Regions from separate parts of the Homo sapiens genome. Here region 1 is linked to region 2. The links are contacts of gene promoters, found by promoter capture Hi-C in blood cells and fetal thymus (Javierre and others, 2016). All regions are on one chromosome and are shown on one strand. Each heading gives the region's core, a stretch centred on a gene start or on the middle of the fragment in contact. The rest is flanking DNA. Distances are from core to core; before and after follow the strand shown.

The links. The method cuts DNA at HindIII sites, captures the fragments that hold promoters and counts their contacts. A CHiCAGO score of 5 or more calls a contact.
Region 1: a contact is called between a fragment that was not itself captured here and the fragment with the promoter of CDK3 in region 2, in 1 of 17 cell types (endothelial precursors). The highest score is 6.1, in endothelial precursors.

The regions. Positions count from the first base shown.
Region 1 is chr17:75,944,533-75,950,598 of GRCh38, forward strand. ACOX1 (acyl-CoA oxidase 1) reads right to left here. Exons shown (of 14, transcript NM_004035.7): 10 at 5,186-5,365; 11 at 4,963-5,068; 12 at 4,685-4,828; 13 at 3,719-3,925; 14 at 1-2,263. The coding sequence ends at 2,216. Among named protein-coding and RNA genes, the nearest start is that of FBF1, 6.5 kb to the left of the region's middle. The HindIII fragment of the contact is 407 bases long and covers 1,400-1,806 here.
Region 2 is chr17:75,995,815-76,002,154 of GRCh38, forward strand. It overlaps CDK3 (cyclin dependent kinase 3), which reads left to right and starts at 5,041. Exons shown (of 8, transcript NM_001258.4): 1 at 5,041-5,153; 2 at 5,598-5,727; 3 at 6,060-6,137; 4 at 6,208-6,328. The coding sequence starts at 5,612. It overlaps TEN1 (TEN1 subunit of CST complex), which reads left to right. Exons shown (of 4, transcript NM_001113324.3): 4 at 4,327-4,772. The coding sequence ends at 4,448. It overlaps TEN1-CDK3 (TEN1-CDK3 readthrough (NMD candidate)), which reads left to right. Exons shown (of 10, transcript NR_037709.1): 4 at 4,327-5,727; 5 at 6,060-6,137; 6 at 6,208-6,328. LOC124904061 (a long non-coding RNA gene) reads right to left here and starts at 4,746. Exons shown (of 2, transcript XR_007065911.1): 1 at 3,991-4,746; 2 at 2,858-3,822. RefSeq lists enhancers at 1,483-1,562, 1,733-1,782, 4,668-4,717 and a silencer at 4,848-4,927. The HindIII fragment of the contact is 39,600 bases long and covers 1-6,340 here.

The sequences.
Region 1 (6,066 bases), core at 353-2,852, 55 kb before region 2:
TCCTTTTTTGTTCTTAGTGTTCCCTAAATCTAATAAACCTCTATTCTAAATTTCTTCATAATTTAAACCTATGTTTAGTTGTGTGGCATATTTTTTCTCTCTTAATAGTACAAATCAGTGACGTTTACTCTATCTTTATTCTTGATTATATTGAATAAAGTTCAAGACAGAACATTCCAATATTAATAAAAATAGCATCAAATGTCAGATTTAGATTTTTTTTTTGAGACGGAGTCTCGCTCAGCCACCCAGGCTGCAGTGTAGTGGCACCATCTTGGCTCACTGCAACCTCTACCCGCCAAGTTCAAGCGATTATCCTGCCTCAGCCTCCCGAGTAGCTGGGACTACAGGCGCGTGCTACCACCATGCCCAGCTAATTTTTGTATTTTTTTCAGTAGAGACGGGGTTTCACCATGTTGGCCAGGATGGTCTCAAACTCCTGACCTCAGGTGATCCACCCGCTTCGGCCTCCCAAAGTGCTTGGATTACAGGCGTGAGCCACCACGCCTGGCCCCAGATTTAGATTTTAAATAAAACGTGAGGTACTGGGTCAAAGGGGGCTCTGCAGGTCGATGATCTCCTCAAACCTGCAAAGACATCCCATCTATGCAACTGGATTGGGGGGTGTCATTCCAAACACCCTCAGATCCTGCCCAGATATTCATCTGTGAACAAGGTATTTCAACACTAATTTTGAAACAATTCTACATCTAGCAGGTCAGTTTATCATTTTCCAGAATCTGAACTACTGTCAGGATAGACTCAAGTGAGATTAACACAGGGTTAATCTTCAATCTTAACACAATTATCAATTAGTTCTCCCAGTGGAACGATTAAGGCTTTTGTCAACATGTAGCATTTCTGCTGTAACCTATAAGTCTCATATTACCAGTTCCCCAGGATAGATAGATATTATGTCAGGTCCCAAGATAGGAGTTATGTTTCCATGGAATTAAGCCATATTCTCAGGACTGATTCTAGAACAGCTGGTTTCATGAGGCATATGGCGTAGATTAAAAAAAAACAAAACAAAGTGACTTACATTGACTTTAAGAAAAAATTAATTAAGATGTATTTAACCTTTAAGTATAGAATGATTGTATAAATTAGATTTCAACTGAAAGGACAATTAGCGATTCAGAGAAAGCTCCTAGAAATAGACTGAAAACAAAGCCATACATAGAGTAAGAAATAGAACCTATGGAACTTCCATTTTTCTAACTATAGTTTTTTGTTTTTGTTTTTTCCCAGTTGTTAAAAAAAAAACAACTCACAGTTTCAATATTTTCTGAACCAAAAATCAGAACACATGGTTTGTGTCAAAGGGTTTTTCTGTGCTACGTCTGGGAGTGCTGACCTAAGTGACATTTTTTTTTAATGCCAAATACAGTAATCTCCAAGCTTTTAATGGCTTATGCCAAGATGACAGAATATGTGAAATCTGATTGTCCCAGAGTTACACTCTGCACTCCAAAGCTACAACAGTGCCACAGCTGAGAGGTTTCCCTATACTTCCTACTACTGTGACAATTTAGCAATCCTTCAAATGGAAAATTCCTAATTACACGAGACAATGGTCCTACAGTAGGCCCGTGCGGAATAAGTTCCCTCGTTGGAAAAATGCTAGCATGAATAGTTTGATAAATGCAATCCATCAGCAAAGGAGAGCAAGCAGGCAGAGACTGTGCCAAGCAGAAACTCATTCGCATCAAGTTTTCCAATAAGTTTCCTTCCCCCAGTCCCTTTTCTTCAATCCTGCTTTTAAGCCAGGCCCCAGGGTAAGTCTGGTAGAACACTGAGCAGGAAAGCTTGGAAGGGTTCTACACCACTTCAAAAATACCTTTGCTTAAAAACACTTATATAGCCAGTGATTAGCAATTAAAATGTGAAAATAATCAACTACTCAGTAGTTAAATTCTGCTAATTATCAAAAGTCATAGTCTACTGGGATCAGCAGCATTACAAAAGGAAGTCATATCGCATTTCTTAAGCTTTTTCTGAATGGTTTAACAGGTCTCTTTCAGTGTTAATTGCACTTAAAACATCTGCTTTTTTTCATTTAATCTCTGAAATCTGTTCATTTTTTCCCTCCATTTATAAAAAGGGGTCAATTTATCATTTGCTCTATAGCTATTTGAATTCGAAAAAGATTCCACAAAATTTGAGTTGCACACAGGCGCTTTCTGAAGCAGATTAAACTTGTCCTTGTGACACTTCAGAGCTTGGACTGCAGTGACTTCAGGTGCTTGTAAGATTCGTGGACCTGTGGGGAAAGGAGAGAGAAGAACTACTAATAAAGAGTTTGCCATGTTAAATAGTATACTGTTTTTTGTTTTTGTTTTTGTTTTTTTTTTGAGACTGAGTCCTGCTCTGTTGCTCAGGCTGGAGTGCAGTGGCACAATCTTGGCTCACTACAGCCTCTGCCTCCCAGACTCCAGCGATCTTCCCACCTTAGCCTCCCGAGTTGCTAGAACTACAGGTGTGTGCCATGACACCTGGCTGCTATTTGTATTTTTTTGTAGAGATGGGGGTTTACCATGTTGGCCAGGCTGGTCTAGAACTCCTCAATTCAAGTGATCCACCCACCTCAGCCTCCCAAAGTGCTAGGATTACAGGCGTGAGCCACTGTGCCCAGCCTGTGGTTGTTTCTGAAGAGTCCTTATCTTTTAGAGCTATGCATTGAATTATTTATGGATAAAATTATCTGATGTCTTAGTTTTTTTTTTTTTTTTGAAACGGAGCCTCGCTCTTGTTGCCCAGGCTGGAGTGCAATGGCATGGTCTCGGCTCACCGCAACCTCCGCCTCCCAGGCTCAAGCAATTCTCCTGTCTCAGCCTCCCAAGTAGCTGGGATTACAGGCATGCGCCACCACGCCTGGCTAATTTTGTATTTTTAGTAGAAACAAGGTTTCTCCATGTTGGTCAGGCTGGTCTCAAACTCCCGACCTCAGGTGATCCACCTGCCTCGGCCTCCCAGGTGTGCATCACTGAGCCTGGCCCTGATGTCTTAGATTTATTTCAAAATAGTCCCCAGGAGGAGGGGGATGAAGGTTCAGATGAAACACAACTAGCCACGAGTTGATAGTCATTGCTGCTAGACAAAGGGTGTACCAAAGAGCACTACGGAATTCTCTTTTTGTATATTTTATTCTATTTGTGTGTGTGTGTGTGTGTGTATACTTTTTTTTTTTTTTTGAGACAGAGTTTTGCTCTTGTCACCCAGGCTGGAGTGCAATGGCACGAACGTGGCTCACTGCAACCTCCGCCTCCTGGGTTCTCCTGGGTTCAAGCTGAGGCAGGAGAATTCCCGAGTAGCTGGGACTACAGCCGTGCACCATTACTGCCTGGCTGCTTTTTTTGTATTTTTAGTAGAGATTGGGTTTCGCCATTTTAGCCAGGCTAGTCTCGAACTCCTGACCTCAGGTGATCTGCCCACTCGGCCTCCCACAGTGCTGGGATTACAGGTGTGAGCCAACGCACCCGGCCTGTATATATTTTTAAATGTTCAATTCGTTATCAAAAATTGAAATTGATTAAGACCCTGGTTACTGTGGGAACAACCCAGTTCCCTTCTGAACCTGTTGCTCAAATAAAGTGACTGTCAGAAGTGGCCATGGTACTTTCAGAGCTTTCACAGATAAATCCCCTTCGAGAGGCCTTTCCTGCTTCAATATTTAAGTGAAGACTTTTAAAAAGGTGCAGAGACACTGGATTTTTACCTCTGCTTTGTTCAGTGGGGAGTTCTTAGCCCACTCAAACAAGTTTTCATACACATTCCCATCATAGCGGCCAAGCACAGAGCCAAGTGTCACATCCTGAAAATCAAATGCATCAACCAAAGCAACAGCATCTGAGCGAATCAGAGTGAGTAACTCCTTTACACGCTGGTTTACTTGTGTAATCTGAGGCTCTGTCATGATGCTCCCCTAAAAGAGACCAAAATAAGTAAATAAAACATATATATGTATATAGATAGACATAATTATATGCATATACAGCTATAAAGCGGATGACAATTATTTTTTTCTTTTTTTTTTTTTGAGACTGAGTTTCACTCTTGTTGCCCAGGCTGGAGTACAATGGTGTGATCTTGGCTCACCGCAATCTCCGCCTCCCAGGTTCAAGCAATTCTCCTCCCTTGGCCTCCCAAATAGCTGGAATTACAGGCATGCGCCAGCACACCTGGCTAATTTTGTATTTTTAGTAGAGATGGGGTTTCTCCATGTTGGTCAGGCTGGTCTCGAACTCCCGACCTCAGGTGATCTGCCCGCCTTGGCCAAAGTGTTGGGATTACAGGCATGAGCCACTGTGCCTGGCTATTTTTCTTTTTCTTTTTTTTTTTTTTTGAGACAGAGTATTGCTCTGTCACCCAGGCTGGAATGCAGTGGTTTCATCTTGGCTCACTGCAACCTCTGCCTCCAGGGTTCAAATGATTCTCGTGCCTCAGCCTCCCTAGTAGCTGGGATTACAGGCATGTGCCACTGCACCTGGCTAATTTTTGTATTTTTAGTAGAGACAGGGTTTCACCAGGCCAGGCTGGTCTTGAACTCCTGACCTCAAGTGATCACCGTACCCGCCTTGGGCTCCCAAAGTGCTGGGATTACAGGCATGAGCCACCGTGCCCAGCCAACAATTATTTTTCTTAAAACAACAACAAAAAAGACTTATACTTAGAAAATACTGACCTGAAGGAAATCCCCCGCGTTCTGACTGATTCCATACAGAGAATACAGCAGACATAAACTCCTTAAGACAGCTTGAATGGCTTTATCTTGAATTTTGAGGAGTTTTTCTGAAAAGAGCTTAACTACCACATAGTGGCAATGTGCCTAAGATTAAAAAGAAAACACCAGAGTTTGAGAACCTTGGAAAAAGATTCAATATACAGTGACTAGGGTTTCTGTACCAGAAAATGCGGGATGCTGAGGGCAGGGAAGGGGAAAAAGAGAGAACTACCACTGACCTCACTTGCTCGAACAAGGTCAACAGAAGTTAGGTTCCAAGCTACCTCCTTGCTTTTTCTGTGAATCACTTCTTTTTGAAGGTTTTTTGCAGCAATTTCTACTAATCTGTTAAGACATAGATTGGAGGTCTGAGGAAATGATCAACAGTACTCATGCCTTCTTGCCATCTGTCAGGGCCCCAGCCCCACTGCTGCGTATTCTAGCTCTTGAGGGAGAGCTCACCTGGCTGCACGGAGTTTATATGCTTCGGTTAGGCTTTCGGGGCTGTTGATATCCACCATGGTTGGCCAGACTGCTACCTGCTGTGGCTGGATGCGCTGACTGGGCAGGTCGTTCAAATAGGACACCATGCCACACACCAACTTTCCTGAGTGCACCTGATCATAACTTTTCATCAGGAACCTAAAAGTCACCAGTAAACATGCTTTTAGTAACTCTACTTTCTTTTGTTTCTTTTGAGATGGAGTTTCATTCTTGTTGCCTAGGCTGGATGGAGTGCAATGGCCAGATCTCAGCTCACTGCAACCTCCTCCTCTTGGGTTCAAATGAATGATTCTCCTGCCTCAGCCTCCCAAGTAGCTGGGACTACAGGCACCTGCCACCATTCCTGGCTAATTTTTAATATTTTGTTTTTTTAGTAGAGACAGGGTTTTACCATGTTGGCCAGGCTGGTCTCTTAACTCCTGACCTCAAGTGATCTACCCGGCTTGGCGTCCCAAAGTGCTGGGATTACAGGAGTAAGCCACCACACCTGGCCTTTTTTTTTTTGATGGAGTTTTCGCTCTTGTTGCCCAGGATGGAGTGCAATAGCGCAATCTTGGCTCACTGCAACCTCCGCTTCCCAGGTTCAAGCGATTCTTCTGCCTCAGCCTCCCAAGTAGGCCGGGATTACAGGCAATGTGCCATCATGCCCGGCTAATTTTTTTGTATTTTTTTAGTAGAGACACGGTTTCACCATGTTGATCAAGCTGGTCTTGAACTCCTTACCTCATGATCTGCCCACCTCAGCTTCCCAAAGTGCTGGGATTACAGTCATGAGCCACTGTGCCCAGCCCAGTAACTCTATCCTTGATACAACTGCAAGCTATGTAACAGGTGCTTCA
Region 2 (6,340 bases), core at 3,791-6,290:
GTGGCTGGGCTCAGGAGCTCACTAATCTAGCATGTTCGGAGGCTGAGGTGGGAGGATCACTTGAACCCAGGAGTTTGAGACCAACCTGGGCAACGCAGAGAGACGCCATCTCTACAAAAATGAAAATATTAGTGGGGTGTGGTGGCTTGTGCTTGTAGTCCCAGCTACTTGGGAGGCTGAGGCAGGAGGATGGCTTGAGGCAGGAGTTCGATGCTGCAGTGAGCTATGATCATGCCACTGCACTCCAACCTGGGTGACAAAATGAGACCCTGTTTCTAAAGAAAAAGAAAAGAGGCTGGGCACAGTGGCTCATGCCTGTAATCTCAGAACTTTTGGGAGGCTGAGGCTGGTGGATTACTTGAGTCCAGGAGTTCAAGACCAGCCTGGACGGCCGGGTGTGGTGGCTCACGCCTGTAATCCCAGCACTTTGGGAGGCCGAGGTGGGTGGATCACTTGAGGTCAGGAGTTCGAGACCGGCCTGACCAACATGGTGAAACCCTGTCTCTACAAAAAATACGAAATTAGCTGAGCGTGGTGGCACATGCCTGTAATCCCAGCTATTCAGGAGGCCAAGGCAGGAGAATCGCTTGAAACTGGGAGGCGGAGGTTGCAGTGAGCTGAGATCACACCATTGCACTCCAGCCTGGGTGACAAGAGCAAAACTCCATCTCAAAAAAAAATAATAATAATAACCAGCCTGGGTAACATGGTGAAACCCCGTCTCTACAAAAAATGCAAAAATTAGCAGGGTGCGTTGTTGCACACATGCCTGTAGTCCCAGCTACTGGGGAGGCTGAGGTGGGAGGATCACTTGAGCCAGGGAGGCAGAGATTGCAGTGAGCTGAGACTGTACCACTGTACTGCAGCCTGGGTGACAGAGTGAGACCCTGTCAAAAAAAAAAAAAAAAAGAGAGAGAGAAAGAAAGAAAAAGAAAGAAAAGAAAAGAAAGAGAAAAGAGAAGAGAAAGGGAGGGAGGGAAACCTTCCTGTGTGTCCCCTGTGCACCTCCCTCTTCGAGCATCCTTACAGCTCTGGGACTTGCCCAAACCTTTCTCCCCAAACCACACACCCACAGAGTCTGGAGCAGGGCCGGAGTTTCCCCGGCTCCTCGGGTGTGTCAGCATCACACATCCCTCCCTGTCTCCCTGCTGCCAACCAGTTCCACCACTGTGCACCTCTGCCCCAATTCCACCTCCCACGCCTGCTGCTGCACCTTGGACTTGTTTTCCTGAAATTGCATGCCATCCACTCTCCCTTCTACTTCTGCTGCGTCCCTCTTGCCCTATCAGGACCTGTGGACTCAGGACTCCCGGGCTTTCTCCCCCATCTCTCTTCCCCGTTGGGCCTCACTACCATTTCAGCCACTTTCCTGGCAGCTTCACTCCTGCCCCAAGACCCCAGCCTCCACCCTCCTGGTTCTGCCAACTGTTGAGTGCAGAAAGATCACAGAACTCCAAGGATTTGGAGCTCAATGATTTCAGGGGCTCACTGGCATTCCCCTGCTCTGCCTAGAAATCCTTCCTGTGTCCTGGCCACACCCCCCTCCCCGGCGCCACCACAGCTAGTCCAGAAATTCCCCTGCCTCACAAGAACCCACTTCCTCTCCTCCCCTGTCCCTCCCGGCTTATTGCTTTATGAGCCAGCTAGAATCGAGGCCACAGGCAGCCGTTCTTCCTCCTACCATCAGACACTGAAACGGCCACCGACCATCAGACACTGAAACGGCCACCGTTAGCTCCTTCCTCTAGTCTAAGAGGAAGCGGGGTCCCTCCTACCTAAGGGGTTACCACAGTTCTTCCCTGTCCACATATAAGGTGTTCAAGCCTCCTCTATATGGAAATAATAGTCTCAATGACAAGAAGTCATCTTCTACACTAGAGTCTGACCTACCTGCCCATGACCTTCCCTCCCTTTGCAGACAAACCTCCTAAAAGAACATCTGTGCTCCGTATAACCCCTTCCTCTTCCCAGGCCTCACCCCACTGCATTCTGACTGCTTTTTATAACCCAGGCCCTTCTTCTTTGCTCCAGGTTCTTAATCTTTTTTTTTTTTTCCTGAGATGGAGTCTCGCTCTGTCACCCAGGCTGGGAGTGCAGTGGCACGATCTCTGCTTACTGCAACCTCTGCTTCCTGGGTTCAAGCGATTCTGCCTCAGCCTCCCTAGTAGCTGGGATTACAGGTGCCCGCCACCACACCCAGCTAATTTTTGTCTTTTTAGTAGAGACAGGGTTTCACCATGTTGGCCAGGCTGGTCTTCAGCTCCTGACCTCAGGTGATCCGCCTGCGTCAGCCTCCCAGAGTGCTGGGATTACAGATGTGAGCCACTGCGCCTGGCCTTTTTCCTTTTTTTTTCCTTTTTTTTTTTTTTTTGAGACAGAGTCTCATTCTGTTTCCCAGGCTGGAGTGCAGTGGCGCAATCTTGGCTCACTGCGACATCCACCTCCCCGGTTCAAGTGATTCTCGTGCCTCAGCCTCCCAAGTAGTCGGGCCTGGGTAACTTTTGTATTTTTAGTAGAGACAGGGTTTTCGCTTGTTGGCCAGGCTGGTCTTGAGCTCCTGGCCTCAAGTGATCTGCTTGTCTTGCCCTCCCAAAGTGTTGGGATTACAGTGTTGGGAGCCACCGCGCCACGCCCCGATTCCTCTCTGACCTGTGTCAGCACTGGGGCTAACAGAAGCTGAGACACACAGGCAACCTCATGTTTCAAATGAGTTCATTGCCTAAGGGTAGCCTGTATAGACAGCTAGGCAGGATGACACCCTGAATTCTGCCCTCAGGCTGTGCTATAAATGACCTAGACTAGAGGAAAGGGCAGGCAGAGCCTTTATCTCAAACAGCGTCAAAAGAAAACAATGTAATAGCCTAGAACATTGAATCTATTTATTTACTTATTTTGAGACAGAGTCTCACTCTGTTGCCCAGGCTGGAGTGCAGTGGCTTGATCTCGGCTCACTGCAACGTCTGCCTCCCAGGTTCAAGCGATTCTCCTGCCTCAGCCTCCCGAGTAGCTGGGTTTACAGGTGCCAGCTACCACACCTGGCTAATTTTTGTATTTTTAGTAGAGACGGGGTTTTGCCGTGTTGGCCAAGCTGGTCATGAACTCCTGACCTCAGGTGATCCACCCATCTCGGAAATCTATTTATTAAAGTGCTCAGAGAGCAGAAAGAGCATGAGTGCAAAAAATTTTTTTAACTTTTTTTTTTCTCTTGCAAGCTATGACTGGGGAAAAAAGAAAGAAAAAAAAAATGTCAGCAATGCACAGTGGCTCACGCCTATAATCCATGCATGTTGGGAGGCCGAGGCGGGCAGATCACTTGACCCCAGGAGTTTGAAACCAGCCTGGGCAACATGGCGAGACCCCATCTCTACAAGAAATACAAAAATTAGCTGGGTGTGGTGGTGCGTCCCTGTAGTCCCAGCTCCTCAGGAAGCTGAGATGATCACCTGAGCCTGGGAGGTGGAGGCTACATTGAGCCATGATTGAGCCACTGCATTCCAGCCCAAGTGACAGAGCAACACCCTGTCTCAAAAAAAAAATTTTTTTTTTTAGGTGGAGTCTTGCTCTGTTGCCCAGGCTGGAGTGCAGTGGCGTGATCTTGGCTCACTGCAACCTCCACCTCCTGGGTTCAAGCAATTCTCCTGCCTCAGCCTTCCAAGTAGCTGGGATTACAGGCATGCACCACTACACGCGGCTAATTTTTGTATTTTTAGTAGAGATGGGGTTTCATCATGTTGGCCAGGCTGGTCTTGAACTCCTGACCTCAAGTGTTCCACATGCCTTGGCCTCCCAAAGTGCTGAGATTACAGGTGTGAGCCAGTTCACCTGTCAAAAGAAAGAAAATTTTTAAAAAGTCTCTCGGAGATGTCTTTCCTGTTTGGTGCCACCTGAATAGTGGCAAACCTTTCCATTATGTATCAGGTCACCACCGCATCTGCTAGAAGCCCCCCTCGTCCAGGGTGGGATGACCTGCTCCTATAAAGCCAAACTTACCGGGAGCTCAGTCTCTTGGATTTTTAAAATATGGGTGTCTCTTTTCCCCGGTTCCTGATGACATTGTGTCCCAAGGTGCCAAGGGGGCCTTTCCCTCAGTCCAGAGGGGTTTTCTGACCACCTGCTAAGTTCCAGACACGGGCCGACTGTGCATGACAGGCCCACGGTTCTAGGCCCAAATACTCAGTTGCCTTTGCCCCATATGCTGTTATTGTCCACATCACTTGCTGCCAAAACCCAGGACTGAGCTGTGGAGGGAACAGCTGGAATGCACCTTGGAGGACGTTGTTGACACGCCGCTCAGTCGCCGTTCGTGCCCTGGTGTTTGTCTTGCAGACAGAGGCTCCGTGGTGAAGGCGCGCGTGCTGACCTGTGTGGAGGGGATGAACCTGCCCTTGTTGGAACAAGCCATCCGGGAGCAGAGACTGTACAAGCAGGAGCGGGGCGGCAGCCAGTAGGAAACAGCAGCCTAGCAACACCCTCACCTGCTTCAGAGCCCGAACCCTCTGGAGCTGCAGGAGCCCGGGAGAGCACAGACGCCTCCCCAGCGACGGCCTTGTCTGGAGCTCGAAAGCCGAGGGGCGGGTGATGAATCCAGCCCCTTCCCCTACTTTGGGATTGGCTCAGCAATGAGAACCCAGAAAGCATGCCATAAATCCGACAGCCCCACCCCAGGAGACTGCAGGTGGCCGAGCTTGGGCGCCGGGGCCGTGCTTGGTGTGGGGCCATGGAGGGTTCCAGAAGGTCCTGGTGAATAAAGGCCCAGGGGGCGTGCTCTTGAAGTGTGCTCGTGGTGCAGCGCCGGCGGGGGCCAGGAGGGGGAGCTGCAACCCAGGCTGTGGGCTGCAGCCTCTCAGGGCTTCTGGTGAATTCTGGGCCTGGGGCCTCAGGGTAGGGCACCAGGGGCCCAGGGGCTGGGGTGGGGGGCCCAGGATGCAGGGGTCTGCCCCTGGCCAGGCTCTGCCTTCAGAGGAGGCTGAGCGTCGTCACACGGGCCGGGCTGAGGCCCTGGGCCCTGACCGTGCAGCCTAAGACAGGACTGTGGCTTTAAGACCCTCCTGACCCCTGACCTCTGCCCCCAGTGGCCCTGGCCCCTGGGCAGCCCTTCCTGGCCGCCATGTGTACCCAGAGCCTGGGACTGGCTGGGCTGGGCAGTGACCCAGGTGGGAAAGGGTGGTCTTGCCCTCTAAGGCCCGGCACAAGTGAGAGGCCTGGGGGTCCATGTTGGGCTGGGCTGGGCGAGGGGTGGTCTCTGACTTCCTGGGGGTTCTGGCTGGGATGGGCAGGGGGCTGGGTGGGAGAGTGTGGGCCCTGCCCTCCGAGGCCGGGCATGGGCGAGAAGCCTGGGGGTCCTGGCTGAACTGGGCTGGGTGAAGGGGGCCCCCTGACCCCCTTGGGGTCCGGGCTGGGCTGGGTGAGGGGCGGTTTCCGACCCCCAGCCAGGTTCCCAGGCAGGATGAGCTGGGGTTGGGGTGGCTAGGCCGTGGGCCTTGGGAGCTGGGCAGTCTGGGCTGGGCTGGGCTGGGCAGGGCGCCACATGGAAGCTGGAGGAGCAACGGGAGCGCTGGGCGTGGGGTGCAAATTGCCCGGTGCCTTCTGTTTCCCAGGCAGCTCTGTGGCCATGGATATGTTCCAGAAGGTAGAGAAGATCGGAGAGGGCACCTATGGGGTGGTGTACAAGGCCAAGAACAGGGAGACAGGGCAGCTGGTGGCCCTGAAGAAGATCAGACTGGATTTGTGAGTGCTGGGACGGCCCCTGAGTTACCCACCCTGGGCCATCACAACCTGGGCGCTCCCTGATCCGTTCCCTCTTTCCTGGAGTCCACGTTTAACTCCTCTGGGTGCTGCCCAGCAGCCCTTACCTGTCCTCTCCCCAGTTCACTGCCTTCTGACCAGCCTTTGCCGGGGCCCTGACTGTGGAGTTTGGTGGATGACGTGCCAAGGAGCACAGGTCTCCATTGCCGGGGCCCTGGTCATTCTGTGGGGTTAAGGAGAAGCCGATCCCCCTGGCTGGAAGTGCCCTTCTTGGCCCAAGTCTCTGCCCACGGCTGTGCCCTTGTTTCTTGCAGGGAGATGGAGGGGGTCCCAAGCACTGCCATCAGGGAGATCTCGCTGCTCAAGGAACTGAAGCACCCCAACATCGTCCGGTGAGTTGGGGATTGAGGTGGGGAAGCTGGGATGGCGAAGGTAGCATCCTGACTGCCATCTCCCTGTCAGACTGCTGGACGTGGTGCACAACGAGAGGAAGCTCTATCTGGTGTTTGAGTTCCTCAGCCAGGACCTGAAGAAGTACATGGACTCCACCCCAGGCTCAGAGCTCCCCCTGCACCTCATCAAGGTAGGGAAGGAA